Regions from separate parts of the Homo sapiens genome. Here all the other regions are linked to region 4. Evidence: promoter capture Hi-C in 16 types of primary human blood cells and fetal thymus (Javierre and others, 2016). All regions are on one chromosome and are shown on one strand. The core of a region is centred on a gene start or on the middle of the fragment in contact, and the rest is flanking DNA. Distances in the headings are between cores, read along the strand shown.

Region 1 (4,771 bases), core at 853-3,352, 290 kb after region 4:
GGCTTTGCTGGTGGAGACACTGAGGTCTAGTTAGCTGATGCACATTGGTCAGCTGGCAGTAGGCAACCTGAGAAGGAAAGATGTGGACTCCTGGTCAGGTGACAGCCAAGAGCAATGGAGATTTAAAAGGATTTTCTTACTAGCTTTCCAGTTAAATAATCTTAAAGCATCTTGGGCGATGCACATCACACAAAAAAATATTCAGATAATGCTTTTTCTCTTCCTTTATACAGGCTGCCTAATACCCCAAAAAGTAACTATAGGCAGCCTGATTTTACTATAACTCCTGGCCCTCTTTTTTTAAAAAAAAAAAAAAAAAAGACAATGTCTATATTGCCCAGGCTAGTCTCACTCAACTCCTAGGCTCTAGGAGTGATCATCATGCTTTAGCCTCCTGAGTAGCTAGATTACAGGCGCAAGTACTCCATTTTTAGCAGCCTTTTCCTTTATATAACTTTCTCAGAGTTGATGTTTCACCAAACACGTAACAATATGAAAGTGGAGGCAAGATAATGGGACGACTTATGCATCTGTCATTTAAATTTCCTTCTTCTTGTGCTCACTTGGGCAGCACATACACTAAAATTGGAACTATACAGAGAAGATTGGCATGGCCCCTACACAAGGCTGACAACTTAAAAATATTTAAAAATAAAAATAAAATTTCCTCTTGTTCATTAACTAGGTAAAAGGCCAATTATTTCCCAGAATGACCTCATCACCTTATGTATGTCTGTGTCTTTATATGAATCCAAATTCAGGTCAGAGGCCACTCAAGGGGGAAAAGGATCTGAGACTTGGTTATATCATCCAGGATACAGACCAACTCTGAAGTTCCTTTTTGGCAAGCTGTTTATTTGCTGCCTGCCTGGAAGGGGGTGGGAGGTGGGGAGTCGGCCGAGTTTAAAATTTAATAGTTTAAAATAATAGATATGATCTAATACATTACATCTATTCCTACCAGTGATGAAGTGTTAGAATAAACTGTCTCAGGACAAAGCTTCATTGGAAAAAAACAGTTTAGTGTAACCGACTAAAACATGATGAGGCCAGGCGTGGTGGCTCATATCTGTAATGCCAACACTTTGGGAGGCCGAGGCGGGCAGATCACTTGAGGTCAGGAGTTTGAGACCAGCCTGGTCCAACATGGTGATACCCTGTGTCTACTAAAAATACAAAAATTAGCCAGGCATGGTGGCGCATGCCTATAATTCCAACTACTCTGGAGGCTGAGGCAGGAGAATTGCTTGAACCAACAGAAGGGAAATAAATTGTGGCATACTCATTACACTCTGTGGATTACCTTTATACACAGTGATGAATCTTTAAAAAAAAAATCCATTGGTGAAGAATATATACAGTGGGATACCATTTATATAAAGTTCAAGACATGCAAAACAAAGCAGTATTAGGAACAAAACATGTTGACACTATAAAGAAAAAAAAAGGGAATGATAAGCACAAAATTCAGGATGGAGGTTACCCTTGAGTAGGGAGGAGTGAGGAGGGGACCCCTGAGTGAGAAGTGACACGTGGAGTAGCAGTGTTTCACAGGCAATGGAGATGAATCAGCTGCTTGCCATTCTCCCTCCAGGTCCTATTGCAAAAATGAAAACAAGGCAGCAGCATCAGACCTATCTTTAGATTGTTTTTTTTTTCTCTCTCTTTTACAAGTGTCAGTTTAATTCCAGAGCCCTGGCCCAGTATTTTCTGATGATTTTCTCCCCAAGGAAGAGAAGGAAATCCCTGCTGGTTACACAGCTGCGATGTCAGACTTCCTCTGAAACATGCACTGTTGCTGCCTATTAGCATAACTTCAGTCTCTCATTCTCTCCTGACTGATTAGTGATCTGCAGGCAGTTTAAAAAACATACTTTGGAGGGGCCGGGCGTGGTGGCTCACGCCTATAATCCCAGCACTTTGGGAGGCTGAGGCAAGCGGATCACGAGGTCAGGAGATGGAGACCATCCTGGCTAACACGGTGAAACCCCGTCTCTACTAAAAATACAAAAATAGCCAGGCGTGGTGGCGGGTGCCTGTAGTCCCAGCTACTCAGGAGGCTGAGGCAGGAGAATGGCGTGAACCCGGGAAGTGGAGCTTGCAGTGAGCCGAGATCGCGCCACTGCACTCCAGCCTGGGTGACAGAGCGAGACTCCGTCTCAAAAAAAAAAAACAAAAAAAAAACATACTTTGGAGGATTCTTGGGATCATTAAACTTCTCATTTTGCCTGTTCTGTTATTAGAAGAGTGAAAACAGCCACCCCCTGAGAGGTCTTCCCAGTGATTTGCATCCCAGGCATTGTCCTACTATGGTGGGTGAGAGAAGCTGGTGCAGGTTTGAACATCCTCATGATAGGTGAGGGATAGAAATTGGGGAATACACTCATATTTATTTCAGGAAACAAGGATGTCTGCATATAAGAGAAGAAACTTTAAAAGGAAACCACTGGCCTCAGTTGGTCATAATGTACAACTTAGGCCCCACCTATCCAAACAGTCAGCTTGCCCCTCCCCACAGCCACTCACTTGAGATGCGTGATATGTTGTCTCCTCCTAGGGGTGGCTGGAGCTCATGCAGCTTGGAAAGGGTGAAAACCCCATCTTATACCCAGCTGATTGATTACAGCTTGTCTTCATAAAAAGATTGACCTGCTCCTTCCCAGGAAAGCACCCCTTTGCTGTGCAGGCATGAGTCAGAGAGAGCCCCACCCAAGCAGCAGACAGGCAGGGGGAGCTGAGAGCAGGTGCAGAGTTGAGAACAAACAGGGGGTCACATTAGTGCAGGCGCCTGAGCATGACTCGGCAGAGCCCAGGCGTGGCCCGGAGCCCAGGGCAAGTTGTTTTGGGCTGAGTTTCCCATTCCACCCTGCGGTTTGGTAACTCCTCATCAGCTTGTAAGTCATGGAGACCACACCCCCAAGGACCATACTTAGTGACCTGTTTCCTGGGCAGATGAACCTGACCAACAAAAGGGCCACCGTTCTCTTTTTGGCTGGGGTTTTGGGAACTGTTTAAGAGTGTGTGGTTTGAAATGAAATCTCCTCCCTACCTCAGACCTCTTTCATAAAATGGTGATGGAGGGGAGTCTTCCTTTGGCCCACCTGCTTTTTCCACGTGTCTCCTTAGCTTAATGATTTTTACCCAGAGATTCTTCTGAAAGGGCCTATCCTTTATGCTGTTCCCTTCATTCTGTTACTAAGCTTTCTCTCCAAATTTACTAGCCGTTCCTTTGCTTTCTGATTCCAGAATGCTTACCATCAGTTCTTCATCCTAGTTATGAGGACTTGGTAATAGGTTCCAACAGAGTATTCCCTTTGTGTTACTTGTATGTTTTGATTTTAGTAGGTTTTTTTCTGATTATAATTTTTAAACATGCCCATTTTTTAAATTCAAAAATTGTAAAAATATAGAGGCCAGGCTTGGTGGCTCACTCCAATAATCCCTGAGGCCAAGGCAGGAGGATCACTTGAACCCAGGAGTTCAAGACCAGCCTGGGCAACATAGTGAGACCCCCATCTCCACAAAAATAAAAAATAAAAAAATCAGCCAGGCGTGGTGGCAAACACCTGTAGTCCCAGCTACTACTAAAAGGAGGCTGAGGCAGGAGAATCACCTGAGCCCAGGAGGTTGAGGCTGCAGTGAGCTCTGATCGTTTCACTGCACTCCAGCCTGGTGGCAGTGTGATACCCTGTCTCTGTGTGTGTGTGTGTGTGTGTGTGTGTGTGTGTGTGTGTGTGTGTGTGTGTGTAAAATATAGAAAGTAAAAGCCTTCCCCAGAAGTATTTCTACCTTTCTTGAAAGAATCACTATTATCAGTTTGGTGATGTTCCTCCAGATTTTTTCCTATATTATTCTAACATAGACACTAATTTCAAATGTGTTTGAGGTTTTTTTTTTTACTGAATAGTATACCTTGTATATCATTCCACTAAAATACCTGACAGGTTTTTTTTTTCCTTTTAGTTTTTTTTTTTTCTTACCACAGAAGATTTCTGTAGACCTGACAGCTTTTAACAGCTCCACAGCATATAGTTGTATGGATTATAATGTAAATCCTTTTTTGTTGTTGTTTGGTGTCTCATCTTTTAGTATCACAAATAGTGTCATAGTAAATATCTTTTTTTGTTTATTTGTTTGTTTATTTGAGATGGAGTCTCGCTGTGTCACCCAGGCTGGAGTGCATTGGTGCAATCTCGGCCCACTGCAACCTCTGCCTCCCGGGTTCAAGGAGTTCTCCTGTCTCAGCCTCCCGAGTAGCTGGGATTACAGGTGCCCGCTACCACTCCCAGCTAATTTTTGTATTTTTAGTAGAGACGGGGTTTCACCATGTTGGCCAGGCTGGTCTCGAACTCCTGACCTCAAGCGATCCGCCCGCCTTAGCCTCCCAAAGTGCTAGGATTACAGGCATGAGCCACGGCAGCCGGCCAGTAAATATCTGTATATATCTTTCTTTATTTTTATTTTTTATTTTTTTTTTGAGACAAGGGATCACTCAGTCACCCAGGCTGGGTGCAGTGGCACAATCTCAGCTCACTGCATCCTCACCCTCCTGGGTTCAAGCAATCCTCCCACCTCAGCCCCCTGAGTAGCTAAGACTACAGTCATACGCCACCACACCTGGATAATTTTTTATATTTTTGTACAGATGGAGTTTTACCATGTTGCCCAGGCTGGTCTCGAACTTCTGGGCTCAAGCGATCTGCCCGCCTCGGCCTCCCATGAAGTGCTGAGATTACAGGCGTGAGCCACCTTACCTGGCCATATGGATATC
Region 2 (5,218 bases), core at 409-2,908, 360 kb after region 4:
TGCAGAGTGAGTGCCGGAAGACAGTGCCCCCAGAGCCCGGCGCCCCAGTGGACTTCCAGCTGCTGACTCAGCAGGTGATCCAGTGCGCCTATGACATCGCCAAGGCTGCCAAGCAGCTGGTCACCATCACCACCCGAGAGAAGAAGCAGTGACCTCTCTCCCCACACCCTCACCTGCACCCTAGGACCTCACTGGCCATAGGAGCTGGGCCACTCCAGACATTAATCCCCACCCCAACAGAGCCACTGGCACAAGTGCCCTTAGTGCTGCCACACTCCCTGGCAGCCAGGTGCCCTGGTGCCCACCCCTGTCGAGCCCCTAAGGATGGGGAGGTGGGGGGGCAGGAGCTTCTGTCCCCCACATTCCATGCACCTCCCCTCTGTATATAGCATCTCCCCCCTCCTAGTGAGCAGGGGCCTGCAAGGCATCACTCCCAGCCCCTCGCCTTCTAGGGCACCCTCAGCAAAGGGGCAGGTGGGGACACTCCAAGTGGGGCAGCTCTCCGTACATGCGCCCCACCCCCATGAGCCAGTTCAGCCCTACTGGGGGCTGAGCGGGGGCATCCCCTCCTTTGTACATAGTCTCCATGGATGTCCCTGCCCTGTAGCCACCAGCCCCTTGCTGCTCTCCCTTTAATGCCATATGGCCCCTGCCTAGGGCACAGGCCCCAACCTGTGTGCTGGGGTCCCCAGCAGCAAACACTGGAAAGTCTGTTTTTTTTTTTTCTTTCTTCTTCCCCACCCCTTAATTTTAACTTTGTGGTAACTGAGTGCCCCCGCGTGCCTGCGTGTTGAGTGTGTGGGCGGCAGTGCCGTTCCGGAGGCCTGGTCCATCTGGAGTTTTGAGGGGTGAGGGGACCAGAGCAGTGGGACCAGCATGGGGATCAGCTTCCCTTCCCCACCTGGAGCCAGGGACTGTCCGGGTAGCCAGTTTTGGTCCTGCCAGCTGCCTCCCTGATCCCTCCCCACTCTCGCCCCTTCTCTATGAACTTAAATCAAAAACCACTTCCCTCCATCTCCTCCTGCTCCTGCGTGGAGGGGGAATGTGTGCTGGCTAGGGTGGAGGACTGAGCACCTGAGCCTGGGGCTGGCTCCCCGGGGTCCCCGACTCAGCTGGTGGCTGTGGAGCTGAGTCCCCTCCCCGTAACCTCTGCAAGGCCAGCACCCACCATCACTACCTGCACCTGCTGTGGTCCCACCCTCTGGAGGCCTGGGAACCTGGCTGCAGCCTGGGAAGGCTGGAGAGGCAGACGGTGGGACCCACCAGCTCTCTCCCCATCCCGCTTCTTCCCTGGGGGCCAGGCCCTACCTGTGTGGTGGTGGGTGGGCTGTCAAGACGTGTCATGTACATTTGTATCAAAAATAAAGAAGTGACCATGAGCTGTTTCTGATGCTTAGAGAATGGGGGCTGGAGGGAGGTGGCAGACATGAAGGGTGACTGCAAGTGCCCCAGGACCCCCGCCCTAGGGAAGCCCCTGTGCTGGGAACGTCTGTCTAGTGGAAGAGTTAGTTTGCGAATAACAAAGCTAACATGTATGACGATAACGCCACCCTCCCACGAGCACATTCCTAAAGCCCCATGTCCAGGGACAGGTTGGCCAGCGGGGGCGGGCTGCCTCAAACACCACCTCCATGGCCTAGGACGAGGGTCCGGGTGGGAGTCTCTGTGCGGCAGATGCACAAGCTCAACTCCAGAGTCTACTAAAAATAATTTAATTAGAAACGGAGTTTTGGCAAGGGAGGCAGAAGCGGCTCCTTTTCTCCCCTTGGCCGCCCACTCAGCAACCAACAAGGAGGAAAGCCCCCGCAGTGCTCGGCCAGTGCCGCGCCATCGCCACCAGGGAGCGCCCCGCGCGCGGTCCACGTGGCAGAGGTCGCGGCCTCGCGGCGCGGGGAGGAGCCGCACGCCACAGTGGCAGGTCCCAGGCCGTCACTCCGAGCTCTCGCCTTCCGGGCCGCTGTCCGGCGTGGGCGGGAGGAGGGGTCTCCGGCGCGAGCGCTTGACCCGGCGCGAGGGCTGCAGCAGCCTCCGCTTCAGCACAGCTGTGGGCCGGGCGCCGAGCAGTCAAGGGCGGGAGGGCAGGGAAGCTACGGGGGGCGGCGGGCGACGCGAGGTGGGGCGGGGGCCTCGGGTAGGGTAGGGAGGGAACTCCTCACCAGCCACTGTGTCCTGGCTGTCCGCTGTGGGCCCCCAGTAGATGCTCTCCCCGCGTCGGAAGTTTCTGTGCAGCCGTGTGCAGAGCGTGGCCAGGGTGAGCAGCACCAGCAGGAAGGTCAGGGCCATGGCAGCCCAGGCGGCCTCTTCAGTGCGTGGGGTGGGGCCCCGGGCTGCCCGTGGAGGCGCTGCTGCGCGAGGGGCCGGGGAAGCCTGACTTGAACAGACACAGCCCCCTGGGCTGCCTTGCCCGTTGGGCACCTGAGCCTCTGTCCTGGAGCTGGCATTGCCTCCAGGCGCCCCCGGCAGCAGGGAGACAGTGGGCACAGATGGGGCATTACTCTCCCTACCAGGGATTCCCGCCATGGACTGCTTGGCCTTCAAGCTCCCTGGGGAAGCAGAGGGAAACCTCAGGGCTGAGCGAGTGGGCTGGGGACCAAGGGCAGCCCGCAGCCTCCGCCTCTTGGCACCACTAGAAGAGGGCTGCCTGGGCCCTTGAGATGTCACCTCTGTGCCAGGGGGCCGCCAGCTCCGCAGAGCAAAGGCCAGAGCCAGGGCCTAAGGAGAGGAGAGAGAGCAATCACCCTGCTGCCCCTCTCAGAGAACCCGAGGGCCAACAAGCCTGGGCCCAGCGTCTCTCACCTGCACACACCCTCTTCGGCACAGCCTCCCTCTACCGGGAGTTGGCTCGGAGGGAGCAGGCCCTGAAAGGCTTTCACAGTAGATCCATGCCTTCTTCTTCCTCTGCTTCCTCCTCCGCCTCCTCATCAGCCAGTGGGCAGCCCAGGCTGGCTCTACCCAGGCCATCTCCAGCGCCAGCCCCCATGCAGTCAGCACCAGGGGCTACGAGAGGAGGTAACTGTTAGAGCTACGAGGAAGGTGGGGACAAACAAGAGGAAACCCTTGAATTTTCCATTCCCTGCACACGGGGCCATAGCCTTCTGCCAGGGCCAGGCAAGCGCCTTTCATCAGCTACATACCCGATCCTGCGTGAGGCTGAAGTCAGGGGTGAGGGAAGGGTTAGCCATACAAGCATAGGCCAGGAGGGCAAGCTGGAGCTTCAGCCAGGGATGGGCACAGGGGTGGTAGAGGAAGGTGACATCCTCAGCCTGGAGGAAAGGCACAGAGACATCAAAGCAGGCCCAGAGCCCTCCCAGAGAATCTCAAGTTCTCCCATCCAGGGGACCAGTTTAAAGGTACTCCCAGGATAGCTGGATGGCTCTTCTACCTTCAGGGCCCAGGAAAGGACAAAGGGCCCTGGGTATTGGCATGTACCCACTCTTGCCTCTGAGTGTTCCTTTCACCCTTCCTCTCCATCAAGTGCCACCCTTCAAAGCTCACAGCATGCCTGGATAATCCTGCCAGACTCAGACCACACTCTAGCCATATTTCCCTGCAGGTGTAACGATGGCTCTACAGGTCCACAATCCAAGCCATAAGCAACCCCCAAATGAAGACCATCGATCCAATCTATACAGTCTCCCAAGAGCATCCAAATACAGGGCAGGCAGGCAGCAGGTGCACAATCTCAGGATGGAAATACTCCATCAATCATTCATTATTCTTTGATTGAGTTGACTTGGTGCTCAGTGCTGTGCTAGATGCTGTGGGAGATGCCAAAGAACTCCTGGACTCTGCTTGCAAGGAGTGTGTGAGAAACTCAGGGAAACAACTAATGCAAATAAAACAGCAAACTAATAAAACTTAGTGATTAGTTGTTAAATTATCAGAGATAGATTCAGAGGAGGAGGGGAGGAATAAAGGCTGATGCCATCGGGCAGTGTCTCAGGGGGAGCTGATGCCAGCTGGGACTGGGAAGATGGCTGGGGGAGTATGGCAGGAGGGCAGGGAGCTGCACTCTCCGAGTCAGGATAGGCCAGGTGTGGAGGAGAATAAACAGGAGCAAAGGGGCTGTGGTAAGGGCGAGGCTGGCACTCATTTGTGTGGCAAACAGCCCGACACAACTGGAGAGGAACCAAGGATGTGGAGAGGTCAGACGAAGCTTACTTAAGTAAGGCCTGAAAAGCCAGGCCGGAGAATATGGCCACGATAAGGTGGGAAATAAGGAGCCATTGACAGTTTGTGAACAGAGGAATGACTTCATGAAAGGGCTGTTTGAGGAAAGGAATCTGATAGGTGGCGTGAGGCAACAACTCTTGGCCTGGAGCTATTACAGAGAATTTTTTTTTTTTTTTGAGACAGTCTCGCTCTGTCGCCAGGCTGGAGTGCAGTGGCATGGTCTCGGCTCACTGCAACCTCTGCCTCCTGGGCTCAAGCAATTCTCCTGCCTCAGCCTCCCAAGTAGCTGGGATTACAGGGGTGTGCCACCACGCCCAGCTAATTTTTGTATTTTTAGTAGAGACAGGGTTTCACCATGTTGGCCAAGCTGGTCTTGAACTCCTGACCTCAGGTGTTCCACCCGCCTCAGCCTCCTAAAGTACTGGGATTACAGGTGTGAGCCACCATGCCTGGCCAATTTAAGTTAGGTATTTCAGGCCAGGCATGGTGGCTCACACCTGTAATCCCAGCACTTGGGAGGCTGAGGCAGGCAGATCACTTGAGGTCAGGAGCTCAAGACCAGCGTGGGCAACATGGTGAAACCTCGTCTCTACTAAAAATACAAAATTAGCTAAGCTAGGTGGCACACGCCTGTAATCCCAGCTGCTCGGGAGGCTGTGGCATAAGAATTGCTTGAACCTGGAGGCAGAGGTTGCAGTGAGTGCCACTGCACTCCAGCCTGGGCAACAGAGTGAGATTCCATTTCAAATAATAATAATAATAAGTATTTCAAAGGAAAATTCAGAGGAGCTGGCGATGAAGATGGAGATGCTACCACGCAAGCTGAGCCCGCAGTGTGGAGCCTGGCAACTGGAGGCACACTCCTTGCACGATGCAGCTCTGTACTGTACACGGTGCTGGCACATACCCTCCCTCGCTGCTCACAGGTAGAGACAGAATTAATACCCTCTCCTACAGAAAGCTGGGGCCCACAAAGTCAGGAGACTTCCCGCTGTCTCCTCAGGGAGCTGGAGCCTGGGTTTTTTCCAGCTACTCTCAGAGAGAG
Region 3 (4,945 bases), core at 2,305-4,804, 340 kb after region 4:
CTGCATAGCCCGGCCCTCAGCCCGAGCGGCCGGCGCGGGATACGGGGATGTGGGGATGATGGGGAGAGAGGAAGGGGACCAGGCGCCCCGGGTAGAGCTTGTCAGCTCAGCCCCGCGGCATCATGGGGTTTGTAGTCCGCCTCGTGAAACTGGGGGTGGCAGGTGGCCGAAGAGGGTCTGCACTGTCCCCGGATCTCGTGGGAGAGTGGGCGGGGAGTCAGGCCTGGCCCAGACGCGGGCGGGGCCCTGACGCCAGGTGGGCTGGGACGCACCTCCCCCGCTGGCATTTTGCCTTTTGCTGGGGAAGTGGGGGGGCACGGGCCTAGGTCGAGCGTTTGGGAGACGGGGTGGAGGTGTGGTCTTCAGAATTGAGCTTGGGTCCCAGGGGCCATGAAGAAGGATCCGGATTCCCAGAAGAGAGCGTCTGATTGGGAACTCCTGAGAAAGGTGTGGGGCATCAGTACCAAGGGTCATTGGAGCAGCCAGGGGTCTGGCCCCTGGAACATTTCTGAGGAGTCTTCCCTGCCCTGTTAGAAAATTAAACTCCATCTTCCACACATGTCATTGGAAACAGAATGTCCAGTAACGCGGGAAAGATGGTCCCTTTCCCCCCGCACACTGTCCCCAGCAAGAACCAGAGTGAGGTTGGACAGAAAAAGCAGCAGGTGGCAGCTCCGTTCCTCCACCCAGCTGGCCCTTCAGGAAGGGAAGTGACTGATTCCAGAGACTGTCTCCTTCCTGAATGACCCCAGGGTGAAGAGGTACTTCCAGAATGGTCCCTGCAGAGGGTGTGGTAAAAGTTGAATTGGCCTCTCAAGCGCCAATTGCAAGGCCTGGAAGGACCAAGAGGCTTGGACCAGTCCCTGGAGGGAGGGGACTGTGATGTCAGAGAGACCAGAGTTCGAATAGCTCCAACTGCCTGACCTTAAAAGAGCAAACTGCTTAATTTTTCCGACTTTCTCGGTCCACTCCCCTTCAAAATGAGAATCTAGATACTACCTCCTGGGGTGAGCTAAGGATAATGACTGCCCTGGAAACAGCGCCTCCCTCCCCCAACCAGGCGGGCCGAGACAGGTGGCGGGACCAGGCACGGTGCCTTCTTGAGCCCACCTCAGAACAAGGCAGGAATAAGGGATTCCACACCGGCCCTACTTAAAACAACAATCCAAGAAGTGTTTGTGTGGGAGGTGCCAGCAAAAGCTTGCAAACTCTCTCAGGTTTCTTTGTGTGGTCTTCCCTCCTTCCTCCTCCACACCCTGTGGTGCCAGGCCCCAGCGGGAAGAGATGAGGGAGGAGCGGGCTGCCTCGCCCCTTTCTCCCGCCTGGGAGGAGCCAGCTGGCGTCTCCGGGGGCCCGGGACCGCTGCCCGCCTGCACCACCAGGGGTCAGCAGAGTGTCGTGGCTGCAGCCAGTGCAGGGGAGGGGGCTGGCGCGGTTGAGGGGCATCTAGGAGTGGCCGGGAGCATGCCTGTGCATTTCCTTATTAAATTGTTTTTCGAACCTTGTGTGTGATTCCACTGTAGCAGTCCTGCTTCCTGGGGTGGTGACATCTCCACGGGGGAATCCAGAAACCCTTTTATCTCCAGTCCCAGGCCCAGAAGTTTGGCTGTGACGGGGCTGGGGGAAACAAAGTTTGGACGATGTGTCCGCGCCAGGGCCACTCCCAGGTAGTCTCTGAGCCAACCAGGAGATGGGGAGTGGGGTGGAGGGGTAAGCAGAGTGAATCATCCTTCTTCCCCAGCAAAGCCCAGGAGTCCGAGGACAGGGGGAGTTCAGGATGGATTGTGGGGAGTTGTCGATTGTGGGGAACTGTCCCCTGGGCGGCCGTGTTCTTTTTTTGCCAGGCGGCGGTAGACACTGAACCCAGGTCGCTTGCGCTTCGGCCCGCGCTCTCAGCTGCCACGTGCTCGAGACGCGCCCACACAGCGGAGAAACAAAGACAGCCAAGCGGCAGGGCTGCCAGCAGCCTCCTCGACATTTAATAAATGAAATTCCATAGCTGGGGGTCGATCGGGGGTGAACGGGCGGCCACCGCTCGTGGACTGAGCGCCTGGCACGGGCTGCCTGGCCACTCCTCCCGTCTCACTCCCCCCGCCCCTTACCCCCTTCCCGCTGAGGCCACCAAGCCCATGGACTCTGGTGAGAGAGCAGCTCGGGGCGGCAGGTGGTGCTCCCCCCTACACACCAGCTAGGTATCGTTGCTTGCAAAAGCCCCACCAGCTGAGCGGCTGGCTGTCGAGGGAGGGGAGGCCTGCAAGATTTTTTTAAGGTGCAATTATAAATAAAGCCCATGGATCGCGATTTCAAACAAACTTGTCAATCTGGGCCGCAGCAAAAGGCGATGGAGGCAGCTTTGCATGTATTTCGGGTGGTGTGACTCATGAGCATTACTTGTCTCCCCTAGGGAAGGAGCCTGCCCACCCACAAATCACTGCCGCTCTGGCACCGTTGGGATAATCGACCAACTTGAGCACCCCTGCCAAAGGACTGCCCCCATCTTAACAAGCAGGAGTCTCTGACTCTTGGAGAACCCCTCCTCAATTGTCACCACTGACCTGGCCCCCAGGTCTGGCCCTGGGGACCTCTACCCTCTCCCCACAAGCAGAGTGCCCGGGCCTTTTGCTGCTGCAGGGATTGGGGGTTGGGTACACGCGCGGCACACGCGTATGGGGGCGCATGCTCAGTGCGGGGGCTGCGCTCATGTGCGGCCTCTACCTAGGCTCCCTGCCCCCCAGCCCACCCACGTCCCTCACCTGCCTTGCCTTTGCCTGCCTCGTCGTGTGAAGTCCAGGAAGAAAGGCCGTCACCTGAAACGGCCCCTCTATGTTATATGCACCCTTTCTGGACACACACACCTCTGGTGGCCCAGAAACACCGTGGGTGTGTGTAAGGCGGATGACAAGTGGATGTGAGTGCACACAGGCACAGTGGTCACTCCTCGGGAGGTCTTTAAAAACCGCCCAGATTCTCTCCTCTCTGGATGGAAGGATGCATGGAGAGATAGATATATTTTTAGTCCGGAGGCAGGGGAATACACTGCCTGACCTTTCTGGCACCTGGGCGTCCATATTGTTAGCAGTGGGCGTATTCAGCAAGAGTGTGACACATACACACACACCCCTGGACACACAGATGTGGACACCTACGGGACAGGGACGCACACCTCACCCCAACCAGAGATAGACGGGTACCCCAAGGCACAGCCCCTTTGACCTGGAGCGGGACTTGGGCCTCCAAGTCCTTCTTCCCTAATCCCCACCCTCGCCGTCCGTGGGCCCAGCGTCCCCCGGTCCACCCCACGCGGAAAGTGAAGGGGAGGGGGCTGTGAGGGTGACTCACATTGCCTCCGGGCCAGGCGAGCGCTGCAGCGGAGGCCAGGGCCGCAGGCCACGCTGCCCGCCGGGGCCGGGCATCTGCCGCGGCCCCTTTAAGCGCCCCCGCCCCCTCCTGCCCGCGCCCGGGCTTCCTTTCTCTAGGGGGCGCGGCCGGCAGCGCGCGGCGGGGCGGGGGTGCGGCCCCTCCCCCTGTGGGCAGGGCCTGCGCCGCTTCCTGCAGAAGCGGCCGGGAGCCGCGCAGGGGGCGGAGAGAGGAGCCGCGAGCGGCGGCGGGGCGGCGCGGGGCGGAGGGCGCCCGAGGGCGAGCGGGCAGGCGGGCACGGCGGGTTCCGGGCCAGCCCCGGGGCGGACGGTTGGCCGGGCGCGCGGAGCCTCGCCGGGGCCTCGCCGGAGCCGGGCCGGGCAGCAGGGGCCGCCGCCGCCGCCCGGGCCCGCCGCCCGCGCCCCCCACGCTGGCCCAGAGGGCTGCGGCCGCGTCGCCGCTGAGGATGTCCCGAAAGGGGCCGCGAGCGGAGGTGTGTGCGGACTGCAGCGCCCCGGGTAAGCGCGGCGGGGCCGGGGGCGGGACCGCACAGCCAGGCCGCCGCCGGGCGGGCGCCGGGGCCTGGCAAGAGCGCTGTGCGGGGCCGGAGGGCTGGGCGGGGCGGGGGGCTGCGGCCTCCAGGCTGGGCCCCCGCCTCGGCCACTGCGGAGCTGCGCCCTTGGCGGGAGGGCCGGCCTGGGGTGCCCATGCTCCCTGGAGGCCGTGGACTAGCGAGGAAGGACGTTCCCGGCGCCGCCTCCCGCTCCTCGGTCTGAGGGAGGCGGGCAGCTGGCTGCTCCTCCACCTCCATCTCTGTATCCGACGGAAGCGCCAGCCTGGGGTGGCAGGAGGGCCGTGGCGGAGGCCGTCAGGGCTTGGGAGGTGGGGGCGAGTGTGGTTTTATGTCATCTCAGTGCCACCCCCGCGTCTTGCACCTGCTGCTCGCGTGGTCGGTACGCCTGCCGGGGTGGTGGAGGGCAAGGAGCAGAGGGCCGGGCAGATGCGCCAGTGGGGCCTGAATACCGTCTCCTCAGGAGCAGATGAGCGGTGGCTACTCCCAGGACTCCCTGCCTCGGGTTCCTAAGGCTAGCGCTCCTTGCCGGGCCTGGCGTTCAGGGCCAGTCTAGACCCGGGTGTCTTCTCGGGAGGCATCCCCAGGCCTGCTGGTGGTGACTGGGAACAGCTCGGCTGGACCCTGCTGTTCCTGTTCACCGGTAAGGCCTGCTTGGGAAAGTGAGCTTGGCATCAAGCTATCCTGGGTGCGGGCCCCTCCCTGTCCCCTAGCCCAGTCTGGCCAGAAATGGGTGGGAGGCCGTGCCGAGATTCCCCGTATCCTGCTGGCTTCCTGGCCTGTCTCCTGGCTGTATTTACATGGTGGTTCCCTTCCTTTTCCTAACAGAGTTAGGACTGGGCTGGAGTGAAACCCCCCAGGCCTGCTGAGGAAGTCAGGGGTAATGATCCAAGAGGCTGCTCCCTTCTGATGAGGGAGGACAGCCAGTGACGGGGCTCTGCAGCTGGCCTGGGAAGGAAGCTCTAGCCCACATCCATTCTTTCTTTAGCAAAGGAGCTATCTCCCTGGTAGGCCCCT
Region 4 (5,192 bases), core at 204-2,703:
GGTTCAAAGTTCTTACTTCTGAAACTTGCCTTCTCTTTTCCTGTTTACTACGGAGCTCTGGGGAAAACACAGTCAGATTGTTTAATCTGTGAACCATACATCTTTGTTTAATTTTGTCTCACAGGCACTCCTGATCACCACCAGGGGGCAAAAGCCTACCAGCTGGCTTCTCTGCACTACACTCTACATAGGACTGTACAGTACAGGGACCCTCAGTGTCTGATTCTTGATGGAACCTCCCTGCTAATTATTTCAACCACAGGGCCCCAGGGAGAGAACAAAGGCTCAGCACAGAGGACTCTTGTGGCGTTTAACCGTACAGCAGCCAGAAAGAGCTCATGACAGCCCTGTCAGTTTAAAAGAAGCAATGAGATCCAAGAGTGTTTGAGTGACAAACAGGAGGGGGTGGGTTTTAATAACTGCAAACTCCCAAGTGTGTGTGTTTTCTACAGCTTTGATATGTACGGTGGTATTTACCAGCTCATCCACTCAAGCTGAGAAATAGCCTTGTCAACTCTCTTTCTTTGTGTAAATAATCAGTGATATTTGCATTGTGCAATTTTTTTCCTTTTTAATCTTGATTTTCCATTACATTCTTTGCTTATGTTCTGCAGACAATTTACCCCTGAGAAAACCATTCCCTTAAAATATCTTTTAATCTACATTTTTACATAGGTCTATGAAAGAATGACATTTAGAGACGAAGGAGAAGAAAGCTTAACGAGCAAATCCTGTTTAATTAAAAGACTGTCTTCACAGCAGGAGGCAAGTGAGAGGTCAATAGCAGGCTGGACCCTCACAACCGGCTTCCTCGGACTCCCAGGCGCGCTCAGCTTCTCTTCTCCTCAGGAATAATGAATAAGTCTTTAGACAGGCAATAGAGGAAGCATGAGGGTACCACAAACCTTTCCAGGGTATCAAACGGAAAATGGTTTTCTTTCCAGAAGTCTCATCATAAAACATAGACGGAAGGGGGGGAAAAGTTAAGAAAAAGCCCCCGAGAGCCGGGGTGAAGGGAGTAAACTGGTCTAGCCCAGTTCTGTCTGCGCCCAGTGAGAGGGTTTGAAACTCCGCGGAGCCCTTTCCCAATAGAAAACGTGTTTGCTTCAGGATTTTCATCTCAGCTGCTTTTTTTTAAGGTTGGTTAAGCTGTGCGCCGCCCCACCTCATAAAATGGTTGTCTCTCAGGAGTGAAGACTCCAGCGGCCCCCCGCCCTGGGACCCCTCACCGGGCTGGCTCCCTTCGGCCCCTTCCCCCACCCCACTCCACAGCACCCAGTGCTGGCAAACCGCGCGATTCCAGCACGAAGGAGGAAACCCAGGAGGGTGCGGCGGCCCGAGGCGCACGCACTCGGCCAGCTTCCGGCAACTCAAGGGTTACGACCAGGCGGCGGCGCGCGCCGAGGGGAGAGGCGGTAGCTGACAGGTGGCGCCTGCGCACTGGGAGCGCTCATTGTGCCCCGCAGCTGCGGAACCGCCCGCCCGCCGCCCGTTCGGAGCGTCAGTCGGCGACAGTCTGGTGGTGGGTGCGGAGTCTGCGGCCGTTCCCGCGGCCTCCTCCTCCTCCCCGTTCCCTTCACCCCCACCCCGCACCCCTTTCCCCATCCCGGCTCCGTCACCCTCCCGTCCCCCACACTCAGGACAAGAATGCCCTGCCCGGAACAACCCAGCAGCGCCTAGATGGCTTTGGTCACGGTCCAGCGGTCACCTACCCCCAGCACCACCTCCAGCCCCTGCGCCTCGGTGAGTCCTTCCTGGCGGCCGCTCCGCTTGCTTCTGTCACTGCGGCTCCGCTTTGCCTCAGCGGGTCCCGCCGAACGCCACTGCGCACGCGCCGCGCCGCTTCCCAGGCCTTGGCACTCGGCTGCCGCGAACCCCCCCACACCCCCATGTTAAAGACTAGCAGCAGGAACTACAAGACGTTGATTTTTGCCCCCATCACCCTGAGCACCTAGCTCCTCACAATCCTCGCCCTGAAATCCCCTGTGGCATGCCTCCCTATGGCTTGAGCACTTCCTTTTGGTAATGAGTCATTCTTGCTTTTCACCCTCCCCCTTCTTTTACCCTCTGTTGCTCTGCTGCAGGGAGGGGACCGTGAGCCTCCTGCGTTGCCCCTTACCCACACCCACATCTCTTACCCACACCATTTCATAGACCTGTTCAGTATTTGCACACTGCACACCCTTCTTCGTACTCGCCAGGGTGTGTGCCTTCCCCTAGTCACTTGCTGGCTTTCTTTTGCTCTGTACTGTTCAGGCTTTGAACTGCCCAACCGTAGTTATTCCTTGGTTTCTCCCGCCTGCCCCCCACCCCAGAGGGTAGCAATGATCTCTGTTTCCTGGACCTCTTACCTTTCCTTTATGAGGTCCCGAAGCATCTGGTGCTGCTTAGTGATCAGTGTCAAATTATTTCCGTCTTACAGATATTTATGCCTTACACTCATTGCTCGTGATCATTCTTGTTCTAAGGTCGTGTTTGTATGGCTCGTTACCTCAGATGCCTATGCCAATAAAGCATGCTCTCAGAAGGAAAATACCCAGTAACCAGCCTTTCCCCGCTGGGCCCGTCTTTGCCTTCTCTCCTCGCCCCACCCCCATTCGTTTACACTCCATTCTCTTAGGCTCCATTTTTGAAAATATTTATTTTTAAAAACAATATATTGCACCAGTGGGGCAAATGGGCTTTAAAAAACCAACATCCAGATGTTTTAGAGAGAAATAAACTGAGTGAAAATGCGAGCAACTGGGAAAACCACCTTGAACTTCCTACAGAACTGTAATTTTAAAAACGGTGTTGGTGGATTTGGTAGTATCAGGTTGCAAAAAAAGGTATTTAATAAACACTGTACCACTTTCCACTGTAAAAAAATCATCAGGTTACCCTTAATATTTGTATGTTAACTGAGGTGTGAGCTTTGATATCCTGAAATTTGCTGGCTTGTCATTTCAGTATAATTTCCTGAATTTCAAAGTTTTGTTGTGTATGGTTGTGGTTTCTTCTTTTCTGAGCTTTAATTGCATTTTGTGTGATGAAATTGACAACTATATCTTAATAAGTGATTTTATTTCAAAGGTTATATATCTTGTGTTGTTTCAGAGAGCAGAACTGGGATTCTTGGTTCAGGGAGGCAGATTTCCAGTGATTGTAAGGAAGAATTTGTAACAGTGGAGTGCACTGCCTTGCAAAATAGTGAGTGCACATTGCTGGAAATATTCAAGCAAAGGCTGGAGAACATTTTGCCTGGGAGGTGGTATAAAGAATTCCTGCAGTGGGGGACTTCTAAGACTATTTCTAATCTAAGATTTTGTGATTTGAGAATACTTGTACTTCAAAGCTGGTAAAACATTTTAGGGTCATCTGAAGACAAGTATCATAGGAATAAATCTTTAATATAATTTATTCTTATGTGTAGTACTTTATGCTAGTTTTTGGAAAGTCATTAACATACCATCAAACCTTCTTAATTCACTCCACTAGTAAACTCTTTGGTTTGTGGTTACTAGGCCTGATTTTGAAGAAATCGATTGAAAGTTAGTAGAGTCATGCAAATAAACTAGAAATCAGTACTATAGTAACATTTATTTTCCTTGGGCACTGTTGAAAATAGCTTATGCTATGATAATATATGTATATCAAGTTGTCATCATACTAATTTACTTGAAGTGAATGATTAGTATACAGTAAGACCGTGTACACTTGATATGACTTCATTAGCCAAAACTTGAGTTACTTTAGAATCTTGAGGTATGTTAATAGTCACTTTTGACATAGGTAATTAAATTGATCATGTAATAAGCTCAGTTGTTGAGCAAAATCACTAATATTTCTATATCTACTAGCCTGGTTATTTCAGTTGTTTATACTTGGCCCTGAATGCAAAGGAATCCTAAGGCTGGTGTAACAATCAGCATCATTAGTATAACTGATAAGCCAGCTTCCTTTCTCTTTAAATTGTCTTCCTATTGGACTTCATCCAGAATTGTGTTCAGCTGAGTTGTTTCGAGGTCCTTGTACTCTAGCATTTGGCTGCTGTCTGACCTCCATATATTTTGCTGTTCTATCTCTTGCTGTATGAATAGGTTGGGTTGTTTGTTTTAAAATAGAGAGCAAAAAGAACCTAGAGGACCATGAAAGAAGAGATTTAATTTTGTGAGACTGGAAATTTACATTTTTTTATTAATCACTTTAAGTACGCTGTTAATACTTTTACACTATAGGATGCAGGGCATTTTAATACTGCCAGCTCTTTAGTGTTGTTTCATTAGGCATTAAACAATATGCTAGGTGTGAGTGACCATTGTAGATACTAAGATGTATAGGAAATTGACCTGTTCATCAGGATCTTGCAATCTGGGGGGCTGGGGCATTGGAGGAAGAACAAACATAAGGTAAGAGGGAAAAGAAGAAGAAGGGGAATGATACTGTAGGTACCTGAAGAGTTTGTGATGGTCATAAGTATTGTCTGAATTCAGATTAAGATAAGTTCACTAATGGCAATGTTAATAATAAGAGTATAACAATATCTAACATTTCTTGGGTCCTCATCTATGCCAGGCATCATGTTAAGCGCTTTACATGAATTAATTCATTTACTTTACACAGTATGCCTTAGGGAAGTTGCTCTTATCCCCATCTTAAAGATGAAGCTGAGGCAGAGTTATTAAGGAATATGCGCAGTGTCATTCAGCCAGTAAGTGACTGGAGTTATAATTCAAACCCAGATGTGTCTAACTTTAGAATCTGCCATCTTTTCCTCCTTGGTGATCAAAAAGTATGCCTAATAGGTGGCTCTCGAACTAGTTCTTGAAGGATGGATTGAATTTCTATAGGCCAAGAGACAAGCTGTGAAGAAGAGAGTATTGCAAGTGAAGAGAAATTGTGTACACCAAAACTTAGAGGCAGAAAAGTACAGGGCATATCTGAAGGAATTAAATAGACCAGTTTGAGGAAGGATTTGTATGGGACAGTAGTAAGAGATAAAGGCGAGGAGGCAGCTAGGGCTGCACAGGGACTACTGAGCTTGGGAGTTTGGAGTTTGAACTTGATGGAGAAGGTAGTGGAGAGTCTGCTGAGGTTTTGAGTAGAAATGATCACAGTGGTATTTTAAGATTTTTTTTTTTTTTTTTTGAGACAAGGTCTCACTCAGCCATTCAGGCTGGAGTGCAGCAGCACAATCTCGGCTCACTGCAACC

Evidence for each region. Contacts are between HindIII fragments. The CHiCAGO score rates a contact against its expected background, and 5 or more counts as called.
Region 1: a contact is called between a fragment that was not itself captured here and the fragment with the promoter of SSH2 in region 4, in 15 of 17 cell types (megakaryocytes, M2 macrophages, M0 macrophages and 12 more). The highest score is 20.1, in megakaryocytes.
Region 2: a fragment that was not itself captured here is called in contact with the fragment with the promoter of SSH2 in region 4 in 1 of 17 cell types (fetal thymus); the score reaches 6.2 in fetal thymus.
Region 3: the fragment with the promoter of GIT1 here is called in contact with the fragment with the promoter of SSH2 in region 4 in 10 of 17 cell types (naive CD4 T cells, naive CD8 T cells, fetal thymus and 7 more); the score reaches 11.1 in naive CD4 T cells.

What each region holds. Positions count from the first base shown.
Region 1 is chr17:29,637,487-29,642,257 of GRCh38, reverse strand. All of the region lies in intron 14 of SSH2 (slingshot protein phosphatase 2), which reads left to right. SSH2-AS1 (SSH2 antisense RNA 1) reads right to left here and starts at 2,757. Exons shown (of 2, transcript XR_001752823.2): 1 at 2,527-2,757; 2 at 1,357-1,597. It also overlaps the pseudogene RNU6-920P. RefSeq lists enhancers at 2,413-2,707, 2,579-2,888. The HindIII fragment of the contact is 2,200 bases long and covers 1,003-3,202 here.
Region 2 is chr17:29,569,636-29,574,853 of GRCh38, reverse strand. It overlaps TP53I13 (tumor protein p53 inducible protein 13), which reads right to left. Exons shown (of 7, transcript NM_138349.4): 4 at 3,135-3,263; 5 at 2,797-2,997; 6 at 2,157-2,712; 7 at 1,697-2,042. The coding sequence ends at 1,930. GIT1 (GIT ArfGAP 1) reads left to right here. Exons shown (of 20, transcript NM_014030.4): 20 at 1-1,379. The coding sequence ends at 152. Among named protein-coding and RNA genes, the nearest start is that of TP53I13, 3.5 kb to the right of the region's middle. RefSeq lists a silencer at 1,894-1,963 and an enhancer at 5,113-5,218. The HindIII fragment of the contact is 5,000 bases long and covers 1-4,158 here.
Region 3 is chr17:29,588,257-29,593,201 of GRCh38, reverse strand. GIT1 (GIT ArfGAP 1) reads left to right here and starts at 3,554. Exons shown (of 20, transcript NM_014030.4): 1 at 3,554-3,875. The coding sequence starts at 3,824. It overlaps ANKRD13B (ankyrin repeat domain 13B), which reads right to left and starts at 70. Exons shown (of 15, transcript NM_152345.5): 1 at 1-70. RefSeq lists silencers at 1,276-1,465, 3,226-3,705, 3,966-4,155 and enhancers at 2,574-3,473, 4,373-4,945. The HindIII fragment of the contact is 9,256 bases long and covers 1,203-4,945 here.
Region 4 is chr17:29,926,489-29,931,680 of GRCh38, reverse strand. SSH2 (slingshot protein phosphatase 2) reads left to right here and starts at 1,453. Exons shown (of 16, transcript NM_001282129.2): 1 at 1,453-1,743. The coding sequence starts at 1,681. It also overlaps a transcript of EFCAB5 not described here. RefSeq lists silencers at 271-440, 1,174-1,263, 1,414-1,693, 2,204-2,253. The HindIII fragment of the contact is 8,919 bases long and covers 719-5,192 here.